2 separate regions of the Homo sapiens genome follow, and region 2 is linked to region 1. Evidence: promoter capture Hi-C in 16 types of primary human blood cells and fetal thymus (Javierre and others, 2016). All regions are on one chromosome and are shown on one strand. Each heading gives the region's core, a stretch centred on a gene start or on the middle of the fragment in contact. The rest is flanking DNA. Distances are from core to core; before and after follow the strand shown. Region 1 holds the start of KCTD6 (potassium channel tetramerization domain containing 6). Region 2 overlaps PXK (PX domain containing serine/threonine kinase like).

What was found. The method cuts DNA at HindIII sites, captures the fragments that hold promoters and counts their contacts. A CHiCAGO score of 5 or more calls a contact.
Region 2: a fragment that was not itself captured here is called in contact with the fragment with the promoter of KCTD6 in region 1 in 1 of 17 cell types (naive B cells); the score reaches 5.3 in naive B cells.

The regions. Positions count from the first base shown.
Region 1 is chr3:58,488,062-58,495,141 of GRCh38, forward strand. It overlaps KCTD6 (potassium channel tetramerization domain containing 6), which reads left to right and starts at 4,035. Exons shown (of 3, transcript NM_001128214.2): 1 at 4,035-4,108. RefSeq lists a silencer at 3,686-4,335. The HindIII fragment of the contact is 5,155 bases long and covers 1-4,562 here.
Region 2 is chr3:58,370,370-58,377,449 of GRCh38, forward strand. All of the region lies in intron 3 of PXK (PX domain containing serine/threonine kinase like), which reads left to right. Among named protein-coding and RNA genes, the nearest start is that of PXK, 41 kb to the left of the region's middle. The HindIII fragment of the contact is 174 bases long and covers 3,197-3,370 here.

The DNA.
Region 1 (7,080 bases), core at 2,785-5,284:
GCCAATTAGACTGCAAGCTCCTGCGGGACCCTGAGCTGCTTCCAAGTTCCTGAGCCACAGAAACAGAGGGGAAAGCACTTGGAAGCCGTTTTAAGTCCCTACCTTTTGGGATTATTTGTTATGTGGCAAAAGGTAACTGATACAGTGGGTAAAAGCACCTAGCACAGTACCTTGTACAGAATTGGGGCTATAGAACAGACAAGATCTATAGCTCTGGATTCAGGATAGAGGGCTGGGCTGGAGACAGGGATTTGGAAGCCTTTGGCTCAGACACAGTAAAGGAATCCATGGAGGTGGCTGAACCATTCCATGGAGAGGGGTACATGGAGAGGAGGGGATTGTGTTGAACAGGAACTTGAGCTTAAGTGTCGGGGTAAAGCAAGAGGAGCATCTTTGTAAGTCTAAGAGGAGGAGCTATGGAAGAAGGAGGAGAACATGCATCCTAGAAGCCAAGGGAAGGGGCTGTCCCCTGGCAGACGTCACTGCAGAAGCCTTGCTGCGGAGAGGCCTGAGCCATGCAGGTCGGAGGAGGTTCTTTCAGATTTAGTATCAAGGAGGATTCTGGTGAGCCATTTAGATGGAGAGGTGGGCCCTGAGGCCAGATTGAATGTTACGGGTTGGGGTCTTAGGGGAAGTGGGGGGACACAGCAAAGGAAGAGAGGGAGGGGGACACTGTGTCGAAGGAGAAGTCTGAAAATTCTTGAGTCAGGGACAGAGACCTGAGGCTGTTTATCTGCTGATGGGCGTGGGAGATGGGGACTGGAGAGAGGGAGGGATGGAAGATCTGAGCCTGGAGAGGCTAAAGGGTGGGAGAAGGAATGGACTAGAGCCCAGGGAGGGGATCACCTGGACAGGAGGTGGAATCCCCCAGCCATCTCATGAGGGGAGGACAGTGCAATGCAGGTCATTCCAAAAGAGGGCAGAGGAGGGTTCTAGGGGGCTCCCACTGAAGGGGAAAGGTTTTCCTGACAAGTAGGAGGTGAGGTCGGCTAGGCAGTGAGAGTTGGGAGAAGGGAGAGAGGGAGGGGACTCAGATCTCCACACTTCATTGTCTTGTCAACTGCTGGTGCCCCTTTGCCCTCCCAGCACCGTGCTGGGCTTGGTTCCTTCCTGTAACAGGTGTAGCTGCAATAATAAACAGCCCCCTCCAGGTCAGCCTGGCCCCAGGGCAGACCAGGATCAGTATCTTTACCACAGGAGCCTGGATACTTGGTGGCCACCTGGAAAAGAAAGGTGCAGAGGGTCAGGGGCAGCTGTAAACCAGAAGCCAGCCTTCCCCAGCAGGCTTGCAACCCTGAGCTCTGTGGAGGCAAACAGCTTCCAATATAAACCCTTTCCACCCCCAACCCCCCAAACCAACAGATCCAGATGGTTTGCGGGAGAATCCTATAGAACATTCAAACTACAGAAAATCCCAGTCTAGTGAATAGACACTCATTCCTTAAGGTATGTTATGAGGCTCATGTAACTTTGATAGCAAAGCCAGACGAGGAGAGAATAAGCAAATAGTAGCATATCTCAGTCATCCACGTGGATACAAAAACCCTAAATGAAATATTAGCAAATGGAACCCTAAATGAAATATCAGCAAATGGAATCTAGCGGTATACTGAAAAAATAATACATCATGACGTGTGAAATTCCTTGAATAAAAATGCATTGACTTAAAAAAATACATTATCAAGGCGAGTTTATCCCGGGAATACATGGATGGTTTAATATAGTAAGATCCATGGTTGTAATTCATTACATTGCAATGGGGGGAATCTCACATTGATAAAATTCAGCACCCATTCATAGTAAAGAAGAATAGTGCTTCCTTACCCTGATAAAGAATATCTATCAAAAAATCCACAACAAACACTATAGTTAATGGTGATATGTTACAAGCAGTCAAGAACAGGATAAAAATGCCCATTACCATCACTGCTCTTCAACATTGTGTGAGAGAATTTAGTCAGCACAGTACAGCAAGAAAAAGGAAAAAAAGGACAGGAAGATACCACACTGTTATGACTTGCAGACTCTATGATTATTTGCACAGCGAATTCAAGAGAACCTACAAACTTATTAGAACTGAAAGAGTTCACTTTTGCTGAATATAAGATTATATAAAACCCAACTGCATTTCAATAGCCATCTATCAATTATAAAATACAAAAGTGAAAGTACAATTAGCACTAGTTATAAAAATTTTAAGATAGGAGGGACTAGGTCTGACAAAATCACCAACAAAATTAATCCATCAGTTTTTATATGGGGAAATAGAAGCCCTGAGAGGGGAAATGACTCTTTCAAGGATACCCAGTAAATCAGAGGCAATTCTGGGTTTTCAGTGGCACCAAATTCTGGAGATCTGAGTATTGGGTAATTTTGGTATTGTCCTTCTATTAAAAAACAACAAAACCCAGTGGGGTGGGGAGGAGTGGGGGGCAAAAAAAAAAAAAAAGAAAAACCAAACCAAAACTCATTGTATTTTTCTGATTATAAATTCAATATTTATGTGTTCTGATTATAAATTCAATATTCATGAAAATTCAGAAGAACGTTATGAAGTAATGCCATTAACATTCCCATACTGTTATCTTGAACACGATGGTCAATGGTTTGATGTATTTCCTTCAAAATTTTTGTCTGTATATATTTATGTTTTTAAAAATAAAATCAGGATATCATGTGTACTAGTTTGTGTATTGATCATTTTCACACACATTTCCCTGTATTCTCACCTAGTCTTTGTGAATTTGATAATGTAGCACTCAGTTATGTTGATGAAGCATATGTCATTTATTTAACCTATCAATTTGAGCTTTTGGAGACAAATCAAGTATCAGATATAACTGTGATGATCATGCTGATACAATTTCAACCCCAGAGCTAGCTCACACACATGCAGACGTGAAACCCAAGTGAGTTTCTAAGGCCAGTGGTTATTCTGGTGGAGAAGGTTAAACCCAGCATCAGGTAACTGGTCCCACCGGAAGGGGACAGTGGCCTGGCTAGCAGGAAGTGAATGGACTTGGAACGAGTGGACGGATGGAGACCAATTAGCCCTGAGGCGTTAGGTGCTGCCCATCCTCTGCAGCCTTGGCTTCCTTCCTGGTGAAGTGGGGACAATACCAGCGCCAGTCTCATCTAGGGTCGAGCTCCTCCAGGCCCCAGAGCCTTTGCATGGGTCGTTTTGTCTGCTGAAGGTAGCTCTGCCCTTCTCTCCACCTGGCTGCCCGTGTTGCTGAGCTTCTGGGCCCAGCAGCCCTTTGCTGTCTTGCCCGTCAGGCCGGACCAGACCGTCTTGCCCCGGTGGCCCCGGGGGCTTCTTCACAGGCCTCATCGCAGGGTTGTCTCCCCAATGCAGGGCAGGCAGGAGGAGCTCTGGCCGCAGGTCGGGGTCCAGGTCTTCCTCGGCCACTGCGTTTGGAGCAGGGGCTCCCTTCCCTTCTTCTCCATCTAAGTCCTCTAATCATGTCCCTCCCAACACTTACGGCCATAACTTGTCATTATTTTGTCTATTAGCTGTTTCCTTGAGTCTTGTCTGTCTTCTCCTTTGATTAGGACCCGCCTCCGTCTTGGTGGCCGCTGTATCTCCTAAACCCCCAGGCCTGAGATATAGTGGGGGGCCCATACAAGTTCGTGAAATGACTAAGGAGAAACAGCTGTGGAGGCACCACCCCTGAGGACGCAGTGGGCCTGGGGTTGGGCGGACCCCAGGCTGCGGGCGGAGGCGGGACGTAGGGGCGGGGTTTCGGGGCTTCGGAGCGGAGCCTAAGGGGCGGGACTGGGGCTTCGGGGCGGGGCTTCGGGGCTGCGGTCGTGTGGTCTTGACCGCGCGGCTCCGACTGCGCTGGCTGAGTTCCTCAGGCCGCCCGCTCTCTGGCTTCCAGCCCGCGCTGCCGTTAGGGGGCGCCCGCGCTCGTGGCGCCGCGGCTCTGCTGGGAAGGCGCCGCCCGCGCCGGGCAGCTGGAGCCGCAACTCCGGGCGCGGGCTCAGTCGTCCCCTCTGCCGCCGCCGCCGCCGCCGTCGCCGGGCGCGGGCTCGCTTGTCCCCGCGCTCGCGCTCTCCGGCCGCGGGCATCTCCCGGCCCGGCCGCAGCAGCCGCCGCCGCCGCGCAGTGAGTGGGGCTGGCGCGGGGCTTGCGGGGCCGGGGTTTGGGAGGGCCGGGTTTCAGGAGACGTCTGCGCCGAGCGGCCAGGGGAGCGGGGCTGAGGAGGATCTGGGCGGGGGCTCCTGGAACGGGGCGGCGGCGGGGCCGCGTTGAGGGGACCGCGCGTCCCGGGCTGGCACGAGCCAGCAGCGGAGGTGCCCGCGGCGGGGCCTGGGCGGGGGTTCCGGGGCCCGCCCGGCGGGGATGCGCGGTTTCTGCGGGCCCGGGTTCGGAGCCCCGCGGCGCGCCCCTCGTCCGGGCCCGGAGCATCGCCCGCCCTACCCCTGGCCGGGTCGGGTTGCGGGGGCTTCGCTGGCGGGGCAGCAGCGAAGGGCGGCCCGGACGGAGATATTTGGGGTGTGCTCGAAAATGATTGTTTTTGGGAGATGGCGCTTATTAGCCACCAATTGCCCTAGTTTAAAGCTTGAGGCAGGACTCAAAACCCTGCCTTTGGGATTTTCTGCCCTGAAGAGACTCTCAGATCGCAGCTGAGTTCTTTATGCCTAGATTTGTGTGTGTGTGGTGGCGTTTTTAATGCTTGATGTCAGAGGTGATAAATGGCCATGGTAATGGGGAGCCCTGGCAGCACCTGCTGGGCTGACAGTGGTGGAGGCTGTGTCTGGGGGTGGGACGGGGAAATGAAACGTGACAGAGATCCTGTTTGGATATTCTGCCGAAGTTACCATGTTTCTGTTCAAGTATACCAGTTCTAGAACAAGTTGATGGATCCAATTTTAGGACTTTGTGATAGAAGAGGTTTGGGTGGCAAAGTGACCTGGGATGACCCGGCTCGGCTAAGAATATTTGGGGTAGCCTAAGTATCTCTTCTATATCCCCCTGGCATGTTCTTTTTTTCGCTGTCACAAATGCCCTATTACTTGAATCATCCTGGGATAGGAGAGAAGCTTGGGGACAGCATGTAGCACAGTCCTGAGCCCAAGATTGAGATGTTTTCAAATGAACGAATATGTAGCTAGGAAAAGGAAAATGTGTTTGTCAGCAGGGTTGGTAGGTTGAGAGTATTTTCTCTTTGGCCGAAACCATCAGTCCATACTGATACTTGATTTTGTGCTATGCCTTAGATATGAACGATGGAGTGGTCAGGATAGCCATGGATGCCATTCCAAAGTTTTGTGATTTGAATTTTCATAAATCATATTTTAACCAAAGCATTACTACTTAAAGGAATCTTAGGGTGAACCCTATGAATCCTTCAGTGCGCTTGGATTTTGATATTTGGGGTCCATTTAAAATGGAGTACCTGTATGTATTTGGATTCAGCTTTAACTTGGAGATAATCCCGAGTCATGCTTTAAAGAAGTTCCTTCTGAGATCAGGAGCTCAGGTGTTTGGTGAACTCTGGGAAAACTAGACACTCCCCTTTACCTGTATATAGTTCTCCCTTCTGGAGCTCTGGGAAAAGGAGGACCTGGGGAGATTTGAAGCAAATTAAGAGGCTGCCTCCTCCATATTTGCCGTCTCCAGGCCAATGCTCTAAATTACTTGTGTTCACACTCAAGTTTCTCATGTTAACCTAGAAATTTTGTTTATGCTGCTGCCACTAATGTTTTCACATTTGTCTAATACTTGCTAGTTTACAGATGGTTTTATATTCATGATCTCCCTTATTTTCTCCATTTCCCCAAAGAAGAAGCTGGGCATAAAGAGTGATTTTCTCAGGGTCTCATAATCAGTAACGGAGCAGAATTCAACTACAGGACCTCCCTGGGAACCTGTTCTCTTTCCTTGTCCTGATGTGTTACTCTTATAGGCCAATTTTTGCCTTTGTGTTGTGCCTAAATGGTGTAATTACCCCGTTTTGGGAAGGTGGTATTATCCCGTTTTATCTTGCGGAAACTGAGGGTTAAGAGGAATGTTATGATTTTGTGACTATTTGTGACAGCTTTTTAATATTAGGTCACTTTTAAACCTATAGCTTCTCTCTTCTAGACCACATGGTTGAGAAAGGAGAAAGAGAAAATGATTACTTGTAGAGAAAAATCCATTTCTGCAGTGGTATGGTTAAGGATAATCTAACCATAATCACATTATCCTTGTATGCCTGGCTACTTATGCTGGCCTGTATGTGAATGTTAACCCCAAAGACTCCTTTAGATGTCGCTGAACTAGTTACTATAAAAAGTATTTCGCTTTCAAACTCCCACATTTCAAGAAGAGCAAAACTCAATACAAGGCAATTTTGAAGGTAAGTATAGAAAGAGGGAGTTTATTGAGTCTTTTCTGACTACCAGACACGAAGGTTTCAGTAAAAAAGCATTTTTAAAGGGCTGCCTGGAAACTCTGGGAAGTCAGTAGTTGGAGTTTTTTATTATTCGTTGGAGGTTTTTATTGCAACATATAGGTAGTTATATAGGATTAGGACTTTTGCCCCGGAGAATTCTTAATCTATAGCAGGAATGATAAACCCAGAATATTTTTGTTAAGTTAGTTCATCATAACCATTAGGCCTGTAATTGCAATTCTGCAGTGATAGGGAGAATGGCATTTAAGGGTTCTTAGGTTATTTTTTTAAGTTATTAACTTACTGAATTATGTATGCATTTCTTCAGATATGCTACTTTAGAAAATTAATACTTCCTTTTAAGGTTTCTATAAATTCTTCAGTATGTGTTTTCTTAAGCTTAATTACCTGCTAACATGACACTGTCAGAATTTATACATTAGTCACAATAACCTTTGAAGCTTAAACATGGTTGAATTTTCAGCACTGCTTTATATTCTTTGGGGAGTGGGCAGTGTTGTTTTCACAAGAATTTTATTTGCATCAAAGGTTACATCTTTTCAGGTGAACTGATTTTTCAGGGTCAGAGGCTTCTTTGAATTTTATAGCTGTTTGTGCTCGGTTGCATTTGCTGTCTTTCAAAACCATCTTTAGTTTTAGTAAGGAAAGTCACTATAAAGGAAAAATTTTTTATTGT
Region 2 (7,080 bases), core at 2,034-4,533, 120 kb before region 1:
TAGGAAGTCCTGCCAATACCCGCCATGTCTTCACTTGGCAGGCTGGTCTTCAAGTGCCTTGGATTACTGAAGACTATTGTGCTCTTGTGTGTCATACTTCAGGTTTGATTGGTAACATAAAACCCTTTAAACCTGAGGAAGAGTGCACGGCTTATGAGGTAAAGGACTCAGCCAGGAGGGAAAGGACTGCTCCCGTCATTGGTGAGCTAGCCGTTATCGCTCATTCTGAGGGACCTCTGATCTTGCCCATAAAGGTCAGGAGGACTGTGCACTAGGAGGAAGCGTAATACTTCCTTTCCTTCAGAAGGCCACGTTTTGTTGGTCAGACTTCAGAAAATAAGCATTTGGGCCACACGTCGTGGCTCACTCCCGTAATCCCAGCACTTTGGGAGGCTGAGGCGGGTGGATCACCTGAGGTCAGGAGTTCAAGACCAGCCTGGCTAACATGGCGAAACCCTGTCTCTACTAAAAATACAAAAATTAGCTGGGTGTGGTGTGGGCGCCTGTAATCCCAGCTACTCAGGGGGCTGAGGCAGGAGAACCGCCTGAACCCAGGAGGGGGAGGTTGCAGTGAGCCAAGAATGCACCACGTTGCACTGCATCCTGGGCAATAGAGCAAGACTCTGTCTCAAAAAACAAACAAACAAAAAAGGAAATAAGTATTTGTACAGCCCACACTTTAACATTATTTATAATGCTGCTGAAAGCATGAATGCCTTGTTTTCCTTTTGAAGGAAGGGGCCTGAGTATCTGCAGATGATTATGTATTGCCATACTTGTCATGCATTTGACACATAATGTCTTTTTGTGTTTTAATTTTAGTATGACCCATTTGAGTCTTCAGATAGAATATTGGCAGACATCAGATTCTCATCAGTGGGTTTAATTGGTTTTATTTATGGATTTTAATAGCATCTTTGCACTCAGACAAGAGCTGGGCCTATGATGACATTGTAGATAAGGTATCAATGTGCAGTTTATTCCAGCAGTGGATTTTCTCCTCAAGCCCTCCTCTCCCCAGTGCAGTGGCCCATGTGACATTTCCACAGTGGTGTAAGCATTTGGGAATTAACAGTGGGCCTACTAACTGTTTCTGCCTTTATGCTCAAGCGAACCTTTGCTTGTGCATAAAGGGGGCGTGATCTTTGTACAATGTCATTCAGCCAGGCCGAGTAAGAATTGTGGGAGAAATATTTTTGAAATTGAAATTGCCTAGACTTAGCCTCTAAGAATAGAGGGTGGGGAGGGGAGTTTTATCTCTCATTTACTCATACTTTGGGGTGATAAAGTTTCTCCACAACTCTTCACTTATGGCCTTTTTAATATAGTGAATTTTATGCTTGCTTCAGTGTAATTTTACCTTTTAAAATGGGGACTTTCAATGTGCATCTTATTTCAAATGCAAATATCCCCATGTATTGATGTTGGCTTATGTTGGGCAGAATATGGTCAGACATCATTTCAGTGGGAGGTTTTTCTGGATTCAAGTAAACAAACAGAAGAAAGCACATACAGCTTTTTGGCAGTGAAATAATTTAAAACAATATCCATAAAACAGACCAAAAAGACTCAAACCTCAGAATAAAACTGTGACCATGATTTTCAGTGTCCAATTACCCTTTTGACAGATAAATGAGTTCCTGCTGAAGAAAGAGAAATATAATACACATATGCAGAGTTGGACACATGTCTGAGTCCAATAGGAACATGTCTAAGTGAAAAAAAAGCAGAATGCAAAATTATATATGCCATATAATATAATTACAAGAAATGTTTGGAAAACAGGATTGCAAGTAAATATGCCAAAATGTTAATGGTGATCCCCAGGTGGCAGAATTATAGGTTATGTCTTTTTCTGTTTCTTTGTTTTGTTTTGTTTAATGTTCTGTACTTTCCAAGTGCTCCACAAACAAGCACATGTAGGCTATCTAAGTGGAAAAACAGAAAAAAGCTGCTTTTTCTTTTTTTTTTGAGATGGAGTCTCACTCTGTCGCCCAGGCTGGAGTGCAGTGGCGCGATCTTGGCTGACTGCAAGCTCCGCCTCCCGGGTTCACCTCATTCTCCTGCCTCAGCCTCCCGAGTAGCTGGGACTACAGGCGCCCGCCACCACGCCCGGCTAATTTTTTGTATTTTTAGTAGAGACGGGGTTTCACCGTGTTAGCCAGGATGGTTTCAATCTCCTGACCTTGTGATCTGCCTGCCTCGGCCTCCCAAAGTGCTGGGATTACAGGAGTGTGCCCAGCAAAAGCTGCATTTTCTAAAGTTTTTTTTTTTTGAGATGGAGTCTCGCCCTGTCACCCAAACTGGAATGCAGTGGCGTGATCTTGGCTCACTGCAATCTCTGCCTCTTGGGTTCAAGCAATTCTCCTGCCATAACCTCCCGAGTAGCTGAGATTACAGGCACGTGCCACCATGCCCGGCTAATTTTTGTATTTTTAGTAGAGACGGGGTTTCACTGTGTTGGCCAGGCTGCCAGACTTTTTATAGTGAGCATATTTTGTGGAAACAATGAAGAAAAATCACCATCTTATTTTAAATGCAACATCAGATTAGCAGCCATCTAGGGAGACAGCATACAACGAAGGGAAAGAAGCAGGCTGTTGAAATGTTGGGAACTGGGCAGAGAGAGAAAGAACTCAGTCTCTGTTCCTTAGACTTGAGAAGGAACCCAGGCCCTGCCCCTTCCAGTGTTGAGACCTTGAGTCCGTCATTTCTTTTTTTTTTTTTTTGAGACGTAGTCGCTCTGTCGCCCAGGCTGGAGTGCAGTGGTGCATCTCTGCTCACTGCAAGCTCCACCTCCCAGGTTCACGCCATTCTCCTGCCTCAGCCTCCTGAGTAGCTAAGACTACAAGGCGCCCGCCACCATGCCCGGCTAATTTTTTGTATTTTAAGTAGAGATGGGATTTCACTGTGTTAGCCAGGATGGTGATCTCCTGACCTCGTGATCCGCCCACCTTGGCCTCCCAAAGTGCTGGGATTACAGGCGTGAGCCACAGCGCCTGGCCGAGTCCATCATTTCTTCTCTTGGGTTTCACTTTCGCCGCTGAAATAAAGGGGTTGAACTAGATGACTTCTGAGGTCTCTTATAGCACAAATGTTTTGTAATTAGAATTTTACTGCCCATTGTTGACCTTGGAGAGACTTACTGTACTCCAGGGGACAGCAGGGGGTTGAGACAAATTGAGGGTCTGTTGAAAGCTTAGAACTCCCTAGGATACTGACTGGAATATGGTTGAAGGCAATTTACAGATCATGAAGATCTGATGTTGGAAGTAAAGAGCAATGAACAGATTGAGGTTGAAAGTTTTTCATTCCTGTCTTAGCCCAGGGCCTTTGTATGTTCTGTTTCCTCTGCCTGGAAGTTGCTGTAAGCTTGTGGCCAGTGCCATCTCATCCCCTGACGTGGTGGCTCACGCCTGTAATCCCAGCACTTTGGGAGGCCGAGGTGGGTGGATCACGAGGTCAGGAGATCGAGACCATCCTGGCTAACATGGTGAAACCCCGTCTCTACTAAAAATACAAAAAATTAGCAGGGCGTGGTGGCCGGCGCCTGTAGTCCCAGCTACTCGGGAGGCTGAGGCAGGAGAATGGCGTGAACCCAGGAGGTGGAGCTTGCAGTGAGCCGAGATCGCACACTGCACTCCAGCCATGGCGACAGAGCGAGACTCCGTCTCAAAAAAAAAAAAAAAAAGTTTTCCCTCCAGATAAAAGCTAGTTTTCTGAAACTGTAATATAGTTTGTCATATAATTTTGGGCTCTAAATCCCAATTTGGGAATCATTCCCTGCTTTCCATTTTCTTTCTTTTTTTTTTTTTGTTTTGAGACAGTCTCACTCTGTTGCCCAGGCTGGAGTGCAGTGAGCCGAGATCGTGCTCACTGCAACCTCCACCTCCCGGGTTCAAGCGATTATCCTGCCTCAGCCTCCCAAGTTGCTGGAATTACATGCCCCCACCATCATGCCTGGCTAATTTTTTTGTATCTTCAGTAGAGATGGGGGTTTCATCATGTTGGCCAGGTTGGTCTCGAACTCCTGACCTCAGGTGATCCACCCACCTCAGCCTCCCAAAATGCTGGGACTACAGGTGTGAGCCACGGCGCCTGGCCTCCCCTTTCCATTTTCACTCTGCAGTTGTGCATAGAACTCCGGGGACTCCTCTGCTGGCTGTCTTGTTCTCTTTTCCTTCTATAAGGAACTCAAGAAGGGAATCCATAGGGCATGTTAAAGAGGAAGGTAGTGAAAGTGAGATGATGAGGCATCCTGGCTTGAAGTCATCAGTGTGGAGGTGTCTAGGAAATCAGTGGCTTAGAGACTTTATTATTCCATGTGTAGTATTTTTTTCCCTCCCTTCTAATTAGCCATTGGAATTCTAAATTTTCTATTCTGTAATTGGTAAGCAGTTTAGAAATTCTAGGAGAAAGCTGAAAGAGAAAGTAAGTGTCTCTTGAATAATCTTTTTTAAGAGATGGGATTTTAAAATAACACATATGTTGCATAGTCTGAGTACCTTTAGGAATTTTTTTTGTGAGATCTTAAACTTAGGGCAGGAAAACCACCTCCGGTCTGTCTGACATAGCAGGGACATTATAATTGCAGCTGTTGGCAAAAGAGCTCTTTGTTTCACCTGACGGTTTGAAAGAACTGATGGGATGTCTGGGCAGAGCAATACATTTAAAAAAGTGAAATGAAGCTTGACAAACTGGGTATGTTGAAGCTTGGAAGCCACAAAGTTCAAAACAGATACTTTATGAAATTCACTCTCACATCCCCACAATGAAAGAAAAGGAGCCAGAATATTGGGATTTGAATCCAATGATGTCAGATGTGACTCCTTTCTGAGTGATGTGGACTCAGCTGGGGATGCTGCTATGCGGTAGTGCAGGCAAATCTGTCGATACTGGGTAATGGTATTTTAAAAATCCTTGCTCCATATACAATCAGTTTGATAAACAAAAGCACTTTTCTTTCTTTAATTGAAAAAAAAGTAGTAAATGAGCACTGTAAACATTTCACAGTAGAGAAATAAAAATTAATGAACCAACCCACTCCTAGAAATGGTTATTGTTAAGCAGTTGGTGTGAGTCCTCCCAGACATTTTTTCTGTGCCTGTGTAACCATATCCCGGGCTAAGACAGCAGGCTCTCAGATAACACCGTTTTGTTCAACATTGTTTGGTTGTAATGTTGATGAGAAAAAAATAAATCTATCCACGACCAAGGCCACTGTGTGAATGGAGTTTGCACTTTCTCTCCATGTCTACGTGGATTTTCTCTGGGTACTCCAGTTTCTTCCCACATCCCAAAGATGTACAGGTTAGGTGAACCAGCATGTCTGCATAGTCCCCATGTGAGTGTGGGTGTGTGTGAGCGCACCCTGACATGGGATGGGTTCCGGCCACCTGAGACCCTAAACTGGAAACATGGCATAAATAATTAACTTGTTAAGTTGGCAAAATCTCACCAATGCTAAGCATTATAATTGCTTAAGTAATTTTCCATTTCTTCTGGATTCTTTAATTACATTTTAATATCTATATAATTGCTTTAAGTAATGAATGTTAAGTGCAAAAATACACCAAGTTAACAACAGCTACCCTCCAAAATAATAATTATCTTGTTTTTATTAATCTTTCTTAAATTATATATAGGTAATATTTATTTCAATGTTTATTATTAGACATGTTTTAGGTCTTTAGAAGTTTGCTGATGTTTTTGTGACCAGAAATATGCTGGAGGAAGTTAATTCTTGTTTATATAAATTAGCCTGGCCGGGCGTGGTGGCTCACGCCTGTAATTCCAGCACTTTGGGAGGCTGAGGTGGGTGAATCACTTGAGATCAAGAGTTTGAGACCAGCCTGGCCAACATGGTGAAACCCCATCTCTACTAAAAATACAAAAATTAGCCAGGCGTGGTGGCAGGCACCTGTAATCCCACTTACTCGGGAGGCTGAGGCAGGAGAATTACTTGAACCCAGGAGGCGGAGGTTGCAGTGAGCCAAGATTGTGTCATTGCACTCCAGCCTGGGTGACAAGAGCGAAACTCTGTCTAAAAATAAATAAATAAATAAAATTAATTAATTAGCCTATGGTAAAATTAGTCTTGTTATTCATTTTGCTTAAAGTCCCAGTTTGTAAGAACCTATAGACAACATTAAGTGATAACTTAGCATACACACACGTAAATGAGATGATATTCTGCAACTTCATAAAATAGTTTCAGGGAAGATACATCAGTTGTGTTTTAGGTAATATATTACCCTTTATTATTTATTTATTTATTTATTTATTTTTGAGACAGAGTCTCACTCCATTACCCAGGCTGGAGTGCAGTGGTGCCATCGTGGCTCACTGCAACCTTTGCCTCCTGGGTTCAAGCGATTCTTGTGCCTCAGCCTCCTGAGGAGCTGAAATTACAGTCGTGTACCACCATGCCTGACTAGTTTTTGTATTTTTAGTAGAGATGGGGTTTTGCTATGTTGATTAGGCTGGTATCTAACTCCTGACCCCAGGTAGTCCACTTGCCTCGGTCTCCCAAAGTGCTGGGATTACAGGCATGAGCCACTGTGCCCGGCCTACCCTTGATTTAATTCATCATGTCCTTGAACCAAAAAATAAAGTGATTGGCTTGGATGTGCAATAGCTAAGTGATGTACTTTCTTCATATGTATGCATTTTATTCAGCTAAAAAAGAAACTGCTATTAGATAAAGCCTAACTGTATAAATGAGGCAAATGATGTGAAATTTGATTCTTATTTGGAAATGAATTATGCTGTGATAGAAAATTTACTCTGTGTATGCTCTGACATATTTTCGTAATTATATTTGAGAAATTGGCAATTTAGAATTATCCGCCAACCTTTTCATCTTGTCCAGTATCAAGTTCAAGGTCTTCATTTGGCTGCATCATTGTTGTTTGAAAAATACAGAATGGAACAGTTAGGTTTGCCCAATTTAATGGTTTAGATTACATCCTTTTCTGAATTCAGGATGCCCTTCTCTTTAGACCTTACCCTCGATCAATACACATGCCACTGGACTGCTCTAATATAAGCACAAGTCTAGAATAGTACTACTCTTTGAAA